Regions from separate parts of the Homo sapiens genome. Here region 2 is linked to region 1. Evidence: promoter capture Hi-C in 16 types of primary human blood cells and fetal thymus (Javierre and others, 2016). All regions are on one chromosome and are shown on one strand. Each heading gives the region's core, a stretch centred on a gene start or on the middle of the fragment in contact. The rest is flanking DNA. Distances are from core to core; before and after follow the strand shown. Region 1 holds the start of TRIM24 (tripartite motif containing 24). Region 2 has its middle 5.3 kb from the start of MRPS33.

What was found. The method cuts DNA at HindIII sites, captures the fragments that hold promoters and counts their contacts. A CHiCAGO score of 5 or more calls a contact.
Region 2: a contact is called between a fragment that was not itself captured here and the fragment with the promoter of TRIM24 in region 1, in 1 of 17 cell types (total B cells). The highest score is 6.5, in total B cells.

Annotation. Positions count from the first base shown.
Region 1 is chr7:138,455,019-138,461,974 of GRCh38, forward strand. TRIM24 (tripartite motif containing 24) reads left to right here and starts at 5,241. Exons shown (of 19, transcript NM_015905.3): 1 at 5,241-5,894. The coding sequence starts at 5,531. RefSeq lists enhancers at 3,696-4,206, 4,610-5,392 and silencers at 4,903-5,292, 5,353-5,602, 5,633-6,112. The HindIII fragment of the contact is 2,319 bases long and covers 3,954-6,272 here.
Region 2 is chr7:141,016,727-141,023,738 of GRCh38, forward strand. No RefSeq gene overlaps it. Among named protein-coding and RNA genes, the nearest start is that of MRPS33, 5.3 kb to the left of the region's middle. The HindIII fragment of the contact is 3,243 bases long and covers 918-4,160 here.

The DNA of each region.
Region 1 (6,956 bases), core at 3,991-6,490:
CCTAATCTATATCCTTTTGCTGTAATAAACTGTACCTGAAGCCAGGCACGGTGGCTCATGCCTATAATCCCAGCACTTTGGGAGGCCGAGGCAGGTGAATCACTTGAGGCCAGGAGTTCAGGACCAGCCTGGCCAACATGGCAGAAAACCTGTCTCCATTAAAAATACAAAAATTAGCCGGGTGTGGTGGTGCATGCCTGTAGCCCCGGCTATTCTGGAGGCTGAGGCAGGAGTATTGCTTGAACTCGGGAGGGGGAGGTTGCAGCGAGCCAAGATCGCGCCACTGCACTAAAGCCTGGGCAACAGAGCAAGACTCTGTCTCAAAAAGAAAAAGAAAAAGGATACATGTTAGAATTAGCAAAAGGGAAAAGGTGCATAGACCAAGTCCAGGAGAAGCCAGGAGCGAGCTTCCAGTTGCTCCCTCCGGCACAGCCCCACAGACAGTGCTTCATTCTCCCAGCAATAATGTGTAACAAGACATATGAAGTCTTGCCAACCAGGGAAATGCACCCAAGCCTTGGATTCCAGGTTTTTTATTGGAGATCCTGTAGGCATGCAGCACCTATGTGACTGGTCTTGGCTACTCACTTTCCAGCTTCCCAGAGATCAAACTGACATATAGTGGCCAAGGGCCTCACGTATATAAAACAGGTGTGAGCCATAGGTCACATCCCGAGCATAAACTCTCTGGTCAAATTAATACAGTATGGCCCAAACTCTCAAGCTCTCCTCTTATCAGGCAGGATATTCCAAAAGGGCAGCAGTAACCCCCCAGGAGCGAGTCAAGGGTCAATCCTCTCTTTGGAATGTGCACCATTTGAGTAACCTAAGCTTGCTAAGTTAACCCTTTATTGCACATCCAAGAAGTGTGTTATGTTGACTACAAAATTTTTTAAAAATTATCTAAATTTTTAATCTTCCTGATGGTAGAAAATTTGATGTAGTCATATTTGAGATAATTTGCTTTTGTTTGTTGTGGTTTTGGTCATTTAAGTTCTAAACTCAATCACTACCATATTCATTCTCCCTTTTATCTATCGCTGATTTGAAGGTCCAAGGGTTTAAGAGGGCCATGGCATATGTGGGGAAACACATTAGGTTTTGGGAGGCATTCTTGGTTTACCGTGGCATATGTAGAGTGTGACTTGCCTCCATTCCCGCCCCCCCCCCATAATAAAACATCTGCAAATATTTTCTGTTGTTGTTTTTAAGAAACTGGGTCTTGCTATGTGGCCAAGGCAGACCTCAAACTCCTGAGATCAAGTGATCATCCCTCCTCTGCCTCCTGAGTAGGGGGTATTGCAGGCACGGGTCACCCTACCCGGTTAACAATACAGGTTTTGTTTTCGTTTTTTTAGAGACTGAATCTCGCTATGTTGCCCAGGCTGGAGTGCAGTGACTATTCACAGGCATGGTTATAGTGCACTGTGGCCTGAGACTCCTGGTCTCAAGTGATCCTCCCACCTCAGCTTCCTGAGAAGTGAGGACTACAGCAGTGCACCCTTGTGCTTGGTTTCCATTGGCTTTTGACTGTGGGCCTCCCCATGGACCCCACTGAGATAGTCTGAGATGGCCTTTGGTGCCTACTCATTGCATTCTCCTTATCCTGACTCAAGTCATCCAGACCTCTCAGCTACTTCTGGAAGTCTGAGAATCTTTTCCTTCTTCCTCTAAATCTATAAGAAATTGGGTGAAGGGGTTAGTTCAGACCCTGTATGTCTAAACACGCCTCACAATCAGAGTTCTACTGAAAAATGATTTTCTTTTTTCTTTCTTTTTTTTTTTTGAGATGGAGTTTCACTCTTGTTGCCCAGGCTGGAGTGCAATGGCGCGATCTCAGGTCACCGCAACCTCTACCTCCTGGGTTCAAGTGATTATCTTGCCTCAGCCTCCTGAGTAGCTGGGATTACAGGCATGTGCCACCAAGCCCAGATAATTTTGTATTTTTGGTAGAGATGGGGTTTCTCCATGTTGGTCAGGCTGGTCTCGAACTCCTGACCTCAGGTGATCTGCCCACCTTGGCATTCCAAAGTGCTGGGATTACAGGCGTGAGCCACCGCACCCAGTCCCGAAAAATGATTTTCTTTTCCTTTTTTTTTTTTTGAGACGGAGTCTTGCCTGTCACCCAGGCTGGAGTGCAGCGGTGCGATCTCGGCTCACTGCAAGCTCCATCTCCCGGGTTCACGCCATTCTCCTGCCTCAGCCTCCTGAGTAGCTGGGACTGCAGGCGCCCACCACCATGCCCGGCTAATTTTTTGTATTTTTATTAGAGACGGGGTTTCACTGTGTTAGCCAGGATGGTCTCGATCTCCTGACCTCGTGATCCGCCCGCCTCGGCCTCCCAAAGTGCTGGGATCACAGGCCTAAGCAAGCCACTGTGCCTGGCCGAAAAATGATTTTCTTAAGTGTCCCTGGAAGTTATAGAATTTCCACCCACTAGCACCTTTTGAGGGGTGGGATGAGAAATCTTACTAGCATCTAATGCTTTTTTTTTTTTTTGAGACGGAGTTTAGCTCTTGTTGCCCAGGCTGGAGTGCAATGGCACGATCTTGGCTCACTGCAACCTCTGCCTCCCAGGTTCAAGCAGTTCTCCTGCCTCAGTCTCCCGAGTAGCTGGGATTACAGGCATGCAACACCATGCCGGGCTAATTTAATGTTTTTAGTAGAGACAGGGTTTCTCCATGTTGGTCAAGCTGGTCTTGAACTCCTGACCTCAGCTGATCCGCCTGCCTTGGCCTCCCAAAGTGCTGGGATTACAGGCATGAGCCACTGCGCCCGGCCAGCATCTGATGCTTTTATTCTCCTTGCTGATGCCCTTCTCTTCCAGTTCAGACAGCTTTGATCTCCTCTCTCATAGGTGGTGGTAGTGGTGCAGTTAAGAAACAAGAAACAGCGCATCATCCAATTAGGCGGAAGCACAGGATGGATATGGGAAAGCAGTAACATCAGACAAGAAGATCAGATGGGAATAAAATTGTGGAGAGCTTTGGATGCAGTGGAGAGCCACAGAAAATTATGGGATAAGGGAGGGACATAGGATGAGAGCTGTAATTAAGGAAGAGTAATCTATTGGTAGTGTGGATCTTTGTGAAATATATTTGAACACGCTTTGTAGGGCAACAATATCCAAATAAAGAAATCATATGATTAAGAAAAACAAACAGTAAATTCATTTTCTGGACTTGAAGTTCCATATATGTGAACAAAGTACAATGTACGATTGTTTTACTCATGTGAAATTAGGAAGGCTAAAACGATGGAAGATCATTTTCTGTAAAACCATGGTGATTTGAAAAACTTTAAGCTAGTGGGTTTGATCAAATTACATGGAATTCTTTCAAAACCAGCCTATTCAATTTTACTTCTCAGTTTTCCTTCCCTACCACCATCATCTGGGGAATAAGAGGGACTTGTCTTTAGTAGGCTTGAATCCTGTATACCACCTATGTAATGAATTTTTAGCATATTAAGGGAGTTGATTTTTGAATACAAAATTCCATTCCTATTATGTGAATGTTTTCAAGGTGTAGCTTCAAAAATATACAATATGGTTTGAATTCTGGGGAAGGAGTGTTCAACTTTGGGGTGGCTTTAGGGGATAACAGATAAGTCAGAATTTTGAAGGAACTAAAACAAAGGGAACAGCGTGTACAAAGCAGGGTGGCCTTACAATTGCTGCAGCATGAAGCATGAGAGTCGCGGCGACTTCAGCTTGAGAGGCATATACGGACGAAATCGTGGAGAGATTTGTGAGTGGGTGAAGACCTGTGGGACAGACTTCCGTTTCTGGACCCACCCAGGTCAGAATCACTTGAGATGCTATCAAAATTGAATAACTGAATACGGAGGTGGCCCAAGCACCTGTTTTTCACTAAGCTTCTCAAGTTATTCTTATGCAAACTAAGGTTTAAGAGCTACTTCCATGCAAAAAAACAAACAAACAAAAAATCCCAAGCTTAAACAGGAACCAATGGGTGGGGGAGGCGGGAAGAGCTGTTGAATGTCTTGTGATTAAGTAAAAGAACCTCTCACTTGAGGCCTACGGAGGTTGTGTTTAAGGGCAAGGTCTTGAAGGAAGGCTACGTTGCCTAGCCCTCCCCCATTGCCATCCCATATAGTCCTCCAGGAAAACTGTGATTTTAGCAAAGCCTTTCATGACCCACTCCATCTTTCTCTAAAGTCCAGTACCGCTTCATTAGTATTGACAAAAAAAAAAAAAAAAGGTAAATACTTCTTAAAGTTACGTGTTACAAAATCTTGTTTCCTTCATTCCGTTTCTATTCTTCAAGTTCCTTAAAAGCTGCGCCATTTTTTGAGTGAAAAATGTGCGTAACTTCTGATATCAGCGTAGAGAGGTGAGGGAGGGAGGGAGGGAATAAAATAAGAGGGAGGGAGGAAATACAAAAGAATCCTGAAGTTATGAATTATTTGGGTAACAGTATTGAGGTTTATTTTTGCTTAATGATGCTATATTTATGCAATAAAAACATTTGTCAATCTGTATTAATTCCTGGGAAAACGAACCACTTTTAGTCACTTAAAAAGCAAATCACTGACTTTAAAAATTAATTTCACCTTTTTCATTGGGGAAACCCTTTAAAAATTTCCAACTTGCACGAGAACTTCCCCCCCTTATTCTTCATACTCATTCATTCTAGAGATGAGTAAAATTAGGTTGCAATATCCCTGCTGCCTCCAGAGTACCTCTTTCACACAGTATTTTAAAAAATTATTTCCTTGTTTGCTCTTCAGTACCTCCACTCCTTCCTCCTGTGACCCTCCGACCATATTTACTCCTCCTACAAGACCAGGTCTCCAGTAATGAAATCAGTTTTCCAAGCAGTTACTTAATTAACGGCATTGAGTAGACAAGTGAGGTCCCGCCCCCTAGGAGGAGCTAACACCGCGGACCGAATCAGGCGGATGGTCGTTAACAAATGAACCCTTAATCTTTTCAGAGGAGGAAACATACACAAAGGCCCAATCAGAAGCCGCGATTTCAGGCGTCCGGAGGGGGCGGGGCTGGGCAAGCACCTCCCACTTCCCAACCTCCCGCCGCGGCCGACGGAGCCTCGCGGGCTCCAACAGGTCCCGCCCCCTCGCCAGGCGCGGCCGCTATTGGGCGGCGCGCTCCACACCGAAGCCTCAGTTGCTGGGAGAGGGAGGGCGGGGGCGGGGGCGGGGCCTGAGGTGGGCCAGGGGGATGAAGAGAAAGGCGGGGAGGCAAGGGCGGGCTGGGCGTATTCCACGAGCGCCTCGGCGGTTGGCGAAGCGGACGGGGTGCAGCCTCCCCGGTGCGAGGAACGGTCTCCGCTGACAGATACCCTCCTTCCGGCCGCGCCACTCGGGAGGCGGATCCCGTGGGCCTGAGGAGGCTTCCCCCGCCCGGTTTGCTTTCCCTCCCTCGCTGGCGCTGCCGCGAGTCCACCGAGCGGCCTCTGAGGAGCAGCCGCAGGAGGAGGAGGAGGTCGTCGGGGGCGGCGGGCGGAGACCGCGCTCTCGCTTCCCCGGCGGCGGCAAGGGCAGGACAATGGAGGTGGCGGTGGAGAAGGCGGTGGCGGCGGCGGCAGCGGCCTCGGCTGCGGCCTCCGGGGGGCCCTCGGCGGCGCCGAGCGGGGAGAACGAGGCCGAGAGTCGGCAGGGCCCGGACTCGGAGCGCGGCGGCGAGGCGGCCCGGCTCAACCTGTTGGACACTTGCGCCGTGTGCCACCAGAACATCCAGAGCCGGGCGCCCAAGCTGCTGCCCTGCCTGCACTCTTTCTGCCAGCGCTGCCTGCCCGCGCCCCAGCGCTACCTCATGCTGCCCGCGCCCATGCTGGGCTCGGCCGAGACCCCGCCACCCGTCCCTGCCCCCGGCTCGCCGGTCAGCGGCTCGTCGCCGTTCGCCACCCAAGGTGAGAACCGGCCGCGGCCGCTGGGGAGCCCGGGGAGAGGGCCAGGAGGGGGCGGGCGCCCTTGTGCGGCGCGACCCGCTGTCATGTCGCCGCCGCCCGGGGTGCGCGGCGGGGGAGGGGCGAGCAGGAGGGTCTGTGCTGGCGACGGTGACATGGAGGGCCCGCGCTCTGCGGCGTGTCGCGCTCGGCCAGCAACTTCCCCGGGCGCTGTGGACTTGACCGCGCCGCCGCCGCCGCCGCTGCTCCGCATTCTCAACAGCCGGGCGGCCCCTGCCACTCGCACTTTTGCAGACCTCTGTCGGAGTCTCCTGCAGCCGGAATCTCGGGTTCTTTGCCGGCTGCAGCCAGTTAACTGCTACCCGCCCGCTGCCTCCACAAAGCTTTGTCCAGGTCCATATGATCCTGATCATCTCGTCTATACTCACGTTATTTGAGCTGCAGGGGAGAAGGGAGGGATGAAGATGAAGTGATGGTGACTTTCTTTGATGATTGATTGCAGATCGGATGTCATTTATTTCTTATCTTGCATGTTTGGGGCTCTTTACCTTAATGAGTTCCCAGTTCTCTTCCCTCTCCTCTGCTGGGGACAAAGGAACCAAGAGACGTTGTTTTGTTGTGTGTCTCTTTCAAAGGTTTTATTTTGAGACGGCGAAGAGAAATAATACAAAGTGATTTGGGTTTTCTGGTATTTTATAGATAAAGCTGGAAGTTACTGTTCTCTTTGTGGTGTTTATTACTGTAAAATTAGACTTTTGACAGGTGTTCCATTGCTAACTTTGACAGGTTTGAAACATTTAAAGTAAGTTTGAGTACAGTTTCGGGTAGAACACTTGGCGGTTTTTAAATTTTATTATTGCAAATATTTGAGCACCTCCTTTTTAAAAATACAGTGTAACTGGAAAAGCATTTTTAATACTTTTTAGAGGAAATAGTTGATTTAGTTTGAAATAAAATGCTAATTAAGTAATTATGCTAGGTCAAGGGGCGTATGAAATGGATACTTCAAATAGATTGTGGGCTGAGACTCATTTATTTGACTGCATGTTAGGAGCAGTATCCACT
Region 2 (7,012 bases), core at 1,289-3,788, 2.6 Mb after region 1:
TCTGAAGATCCTTAATTTAGTCACATCTTCAAAGGCCTTTTCCCCGTATCTGGTAACATTTGCAGGTCCCAGGGATTAGACTCTGTTATCTTTGGGGAACAGTTTTAGCCTACCACAGGATTAGAAGGAGTAAGCCATTGAAATTGGCCAATCAGAGACTGTTACTTATCAATAGGAAAGTTGGAATATTAGGGATGGAAAAATGAAATGAATAGAATAAAATTGAACCTCCTATGGATATTGACTTCACCAGACCTTGGCTTACCCATTTACACCGCCAAGATAATGCAGTTTTAAGAGCACTTTTTATAATCAGAGATTGCTCTATAAATCAGATATTTCCTTATATATTTCTATTTTCTGTAGTCCTGTGTTTTCCAATTGTGTGCTGTGAATCATTAGTTGGCTGTGAAATCAATTTAGTGAATAGAGACCAGCATTAAAAGAAAGACATTAGGATAAAAAATATCTAAATGCATCACATGTAGTAGGGGTAATTATTGTTTCATGAAACAATATGTATATGTGCATTGGATCATAATATAAATATATTTCTTGCTGTAGGTTGTGGTAAAATGGAAAGCCTCCACTTTAAGTGATTTCATTATTCATCATACTCTTTGGCAAATGTTCTTTGTCATTAGGCAGGGCAAGAATTAAAGCTACATCAACTTAAAGTTCTTATGGTGTGGCATAGTCCAAGGGGCAGGGGAATATTTATTGCTTTAAGTAAATCAATTTACAGATACCGTATTTTCATAAGTATTCTTTCTTAGCATCATGTAGGTTCTTTTTTACATCTGCATTTACAGTAGTTCTTGGACCTTACAAAAGAAAGGTATATCCATCACTGAAGGTGTGAGGGATATACCTTCCAGGATGACAGATGAAAGGAAGATTCAAAATGTTTTGGAGGAAGCTTCCTCTAATGATCAATCAAGGCACCATCAACCCTTCTTAGGCTTCATGTCTTTTCCTATCTTACATATATTCCACTTAAGGGTGAAGTACGGCTGTCAGAAATATGGTAATTGGTTTGTTGTGATTTTCTGAAATCAGATATACTGTGTGAATGTTAGTGGTAAGAGTGACAGTAATTTTCCTTTAACCATCAGATGTCTTCCATCCTCTGTTGAAAAGTGCAGTGTTTTTGAAGGAGAATCTGGTAAGAGCAGAGCAAAGCAGCACTGAAGAAAGTATCGAAGCCAATTTTTTTTCCCGTATATTTAAACCTAAGCAATTCTTTTCAGCTATTCTCAGTACTTCTCCATAGGATATAGCATTATCTGGAAAGAAAAGCAACTCTGAACAGCTGAAGTAGTAGAGCTTTGTGACAGATTTTTTTTTTTTTTTTTTTTTTGGAGAGAGTCTCACTCTGTTGCCCAGGCTGGAGTGCAGTGGCATGATCTCGGCTCACTGCAACCTTCGTCTCCTGGGTCCAAGCAATTCTTGTGCCTCAGCCTCCTGAATAGCTGGGATTACAGACACCTGCCACCACGCCCAGCTAATTTTTGTATTTTTAGTAGAGACAGAATTTTGCCATGTTGGCCAGGCTGGTCTTAAACTCCTGACCTTAGGTGATCCACCTGCCTCCATCTTCCAAAGTGCTGGGATTACAGATGGGAGCCATCGCCCCTGGCCGTGACACTGATCATTATAAATATCATACAGATCATTTTCAGGTACCTTCATATTTTTCACATTGCACTGGAATAAACTGTGCAAAAGTCATACATAATTTTATTTTAGATTTGGTGTGTGTTGTTCAATGAATGTGAAAATGTATTGTGATAATCACTGATACAGTTCACCAAATCTTTTCCATTTCCTTCCACTTTGGCTAGATTGTATTTCATGGGAATTCTGAGATTGGTTAGGATCATGGTTAGGACTTTTTCTGGCCAATGAGTTATGAGCAGATGTGAAGCGTCACCTTCCGATTAAGGTGGTTATTTACCCTGATGAAACTCCAGAGCTCTCCTTCCCTTCTGAGACAGAGAGTTGTTGCACTGTCAGCCTGTGCTCCTGAGTTGTTATGAAGGGCTGATCCTATTCCACCAGCCATATTGGAAATATAGCTTTTGTTAGAAATGAGCCGTTGTTGTTTTAATTCACATGCCTCTGTTTTAAGTCATACAAATTTGTTGTTTGTTATTGGAGCATGACCTAGCCTATCTTGTCTGATACACTTATTTTTATCAAATTCTATTATGAAATAGAGAAATACTTCAATCCTGACTTTCTTTCTGCCTCTTATTAACAAAAATAAAATTATGCTTTAGCTTCTAGGCTGATTACTTTTTAAATAGCATATTCTTTTATTCTTCATTAAATATATAGGAAACATTTTGATTATGATTTCCAAAAAATTGTTTAGAGCTATTCTAGAATATTTATATATTATTCTTCTTCAGTTATTCCTAAAAGCTGAAAACCAAAGTTCAATATACACACAGACATACTGAAGGAATATTGTCTGTTATACTCTAATTCATAAATAACATTCATCTCACACATTATGTTTTATTATTAGGAAATAAGTAATGAGAAAAACCATATAGATTTATTCTTGGTTTTATGGCTTATTATAAAAATGGATAAACCAATTCTAATAGTTTTGATATCATTTTAATCTTGGCTGCTTTTAATAATTGAGATTATGAGATGTATTTGATAATTTCCTAGTTTAAAAAAACTAAGAATACATATTCTAATACATTTAGTTAAAAATGAGGTTGGAAAGTAAATCTGACCTAGATGATTGGTTTGACAATGAGGATTAACTTTACTAATTAGATTATGTGGCTGATGGGTGTTTTCTATAAATTGAATAAGCCATATCTACAGCTCCAAGGTTTGGCAAAAATGTATAAAGTGCATGATGATATAAATCATTTTATAAAAGATATTTTGTATCAAAATTAACAATATATCCATTTTACTAACCCCTTGATGGGCTCAAAGATCCTCCCACCTCAGCCTCTGGAATAGGTGAGACTACAGGTATGAGCCACCATGCCTGACTACTGTTTAAAGTTTTTGTAGAGACTGGGTCTTGCTATGTTGCCTAGACTTGACTCGAACTCCTGGACTCAGGTGATCCTTCTCCGCTTGGCCTCCCAAAGTGTTGGGATTACAGGTGTAAGCCACTGTTCCTGGATAAAACAAGGTGATTCTAAATGAAAACAGAACAAATATAGATTTTGCAAATCTTGGTGTTGCCTTTTTGGTATGTTTCCCAAACATTGTGAAAGCGAATGACTGTATAATACATGCTCTTAAAAGTCAGGTTGAAAGTAATTCTTTGTTTTCAGAAAAAGAAGAAGGGACTAGGTAAGTTTTTAGCTGACAGATAATTAAATAATTTTTGTGATAGATTTCTATGTACCTTTGTCATATAACTCAGAGAGAGTTCAAATAATTGGGTGATATTGTCATACGCTAAAACATGGATGAACCTTGAGGACATTATGCTAAGTGAAATAAGCCAGTCACTAAAAGACAAATATTGCATGGTTCCACTTATATGAGGCATGTAAAGTGGTCAAATTCTTAGAAATGGAAAGTAGAATGGTGGTTGCCAGGGGGTGGAGGGAGGGAGGAAGGGGAGTTGTTCCATGGATACACAGTTGCAGTTTTGCAAGATTAAAATTTTCTAGAGACCTATTGTTCAACAATGTGCATATAGTCAACACTACTGTACTATACACTTAAAGATGGTTAAGATGGTAAATTTTATGTTCTGTGTTTTTTTTACCATGGTTTAAAAAAATTGTGTGATACTGCTATAACACAGGTTTTCCCATTTCCATCCACTTATGTGAACACATTTTCTCAATGCTTACATCCATTTAAGTGAAGATAGTAATAGGATTGATGCTGTCCCCTCCAAGCAATTAAAAATTCATATTTGACTATATTAACTACATGGGGAAAACTTCATCTATCAAGGGATATGTTAAGAAGTTTTTTGTTTATAAGTGTTCATCAAAATTCATGATATATTTAAGTCATTTTGATCATTTGTGTACAAAAAGTTGTAATGATAACCCAAAGGGAAAAATATTTTCAACACATACTTTTAGTCATAGAAGTTAAAAAAGTTAAAATTCAATTGACAAATATTTTGTTGCAGGAAAATATGACACATGGTCAGTAAAAGCTTTCAAGCATAAAAACATATTAAGATAAAGTAACATTTTGTGAGAGGAGTAGAATATAACTTCAAGGAGAAAAAGCAATGATGTAAACTGGCCAAGTGCAGTGGCTCATGCCTGTAATCCTAGCACTTTGAAAGGCTGAGGCGGAAGGATCTCTTGAGCTCAGAAGTTCGAGAGTCTAGGCAACACAGGGAGACCTTTTTTTGCAGTTCAGTAGTTTTGTGGGGAACAGGTGGTGTTTGGTTACATGAATGTTTTTTTTTTTTTGAGACACAGTCTCACTCTGTCACCCAGGCTGGAGTGCAGTGGTGCAATCTTAGCTCACTGCAACCTCCGCCTCCCCAGTCCAAGTGATTCTCCTGCCTCAGCCTCCCGAGTAGGTGGGACTACAGGTGCGTGCCACCACACCCGGCTAATTTTTTGTATTTTTAGAGATGGGGTTTCACCGTGTTAGCCAGGATGGTCTCGATCTCCTGGCCTTGTGATCCACCCGCCTTGGCCTCCCAAAGTGCTGGGATTACAGGCATGAGCCATTGCGCCCGGCCCTACGTGGATCAATTTTTTAGTGGTGATTTCTGAGATTTTGGTGCAACTATCACTCGAGCGGTGTACACTGTACTCAGTGTGTAGTCTTTTATCCCTCACCCCCACTCCTGCCCTTCCCCCTGAGTTTCCAGAGTCATAATATCATTCTTATGCCTTTGTGTCCTCATAGTTTAGCTTCCACTTATAAGTGAGAACATATAATGTTTGGCTTTTCTTCCTGAGTTACTTCACTTAGGATAATAGTCTCCAACTCCATCCAGGTTGCTGTGAATGCCATTGTTTTGTTCCTTTTTATGGCTGTGTAGTATTCTATGATATATATATCACATTTTCTTTACCTGCTCGTTGATCGATGGGCATTTAGGCAGGTTCCATATTTTTGCAATTGCAAATTGTGCTGCTATACACATGCGTATGCAAGTATCTTTTTCATGTAATGAATTATTTTCCTCTGGGTAAATACCCAGTGGAAATTTTGTTTGCTTTGTTGAAGATCAGTTGGCTGTTAAGTGTTTGGCTTTATTTCTGGGTTCTCTATTCTGTTTCATTGGTCCATGTGCCTCTTTTTATACCAGTACCATGCTGTTTTGGGAATTATAGCCTTGTATTAATAGTATAGTTTGAAGCTGGGTAATGTGATGCCTCCAGATTTGTTCTTTTTGCTTAGTCCTGCTTCAGCTATGTGGGCTGTTTTTTGTTCCATATGAATTTTAGGATTTTTTTTCTAGTTCTGTGAACAATGATTGTGGTATTTTGATGAGAAGTGCATTCAATCTGTAGATTGCTTTTGGCAGTATGATCATTTTCACAATATTGATTCTATCCATCCATGAGCATGGGATGTATTTCCATTTGTTTGTGTTGTCTGTGATTTCTTTCAGCAGTGTTTTGTAGTTTTCCTTGTAGAGATCTTTCACCTCCTTGGTTAGTTGTATTCCTAAATATTTTATTTTATTTTAATTTATTTTATTTTTTGCAGCTGTTGTAAAACAGCTCTTGAGTTCTTGATTTGATTCTCAACTTGGTTGCTGTTGGTGTATAGCAGTGCTACTTATTTGTGTACATTGATTTTGTATCCTGAAACTTTACTGAATTCATTAATCAGATCTAGGAGCTTTTTGGATGAGTCTTTAGGGTTTTCTAGATATATGATCATATCATCAGTGAACAGCAACACTTTGACTTCCTCTTTACTGATTTGGATGGCCTTTATTTCTTTCTCTTGTCGGATTGCTCTGGCTAGGACCCAGTACTATGTTGAATAAAAGTGGTGAGAGTGGACATCCTTGTCCTGTGCCAGTTCTTAGGGGGAATACTTTCAACTTTTCCCCATTCTGTATAATGTTAGCTGTGGGTTTGTCATAGATGGCTTTTATTACCTTAATATATGTTCCTTCTGTGCCAGTTTTGCTGAGGGTTTTAATCATAAGGGGATGCTGGATTTTGTCAAATGCTTTTTCTGCATCTATTGAGATGATCACATGATTTTTATTTTTAATTCTGTTTATGTGGTATATCAAATTTATTGACTTGCATATGTTAAACCAACCCTGCATCCCTGATATGAAACCCACTTGATCATTGTGTATTATCTTTTTGATATGCTGTTGGATTCAGTAGCGAGTATTTTGTTGAAGATTTTTGCATCTATATTCATCAGGGATATTGATCTGTAGTTTTCTTTTTCTTTCTTTCTTTTATTTTTTGGTAAGTCCTTTCCTGGTTTTGGCATTAGGGTAACACTGGCTTCATAGAATGATTTAGGGAGGATCCTCTCTTTCTCTATCTTTTGGAATGGTTTCAGTAGGATTGGTACCAATTTTTCTTTGAATGTCTGATAGAATTTAGTTATGAACCCATCTGGTCCTGGACCCTTTTTTTGTTGGCAATTTTAAAATTACTGTTTCAACCTCATTACTTGGTTTTGGTCTGTTTAGAGTTTCTATTTCTTCCTGATTTAATCTACAAAGGTTGTATTGATTTTGTCTTTTCAAAGAACCAGCTTTTTGTTTCTTTTATCTTTTGTGTATGTGTGTTTTTTTGTTTCAGTTTCATTTAGTTCTGCTCTGATCTTTGTTATTCATTTTCTTCTACTGGGTTTGGGCTTGGTTTGTTCTTGTTTCTCTAATTCTTTGAGATGTGAGCTTAGATTGTCAGTTTGTGCTCTTTCAGACTTTTTGATGTAGGCATTTAATACTCTGAACTTTCCTCTTAGCACCGTTTTGCTGTATCCCAGACATTTTGATAGGTTGTATCACTATTATCATTCAGTTCAAAGAATTTTTTAATTTCCATCTTGATTTCAT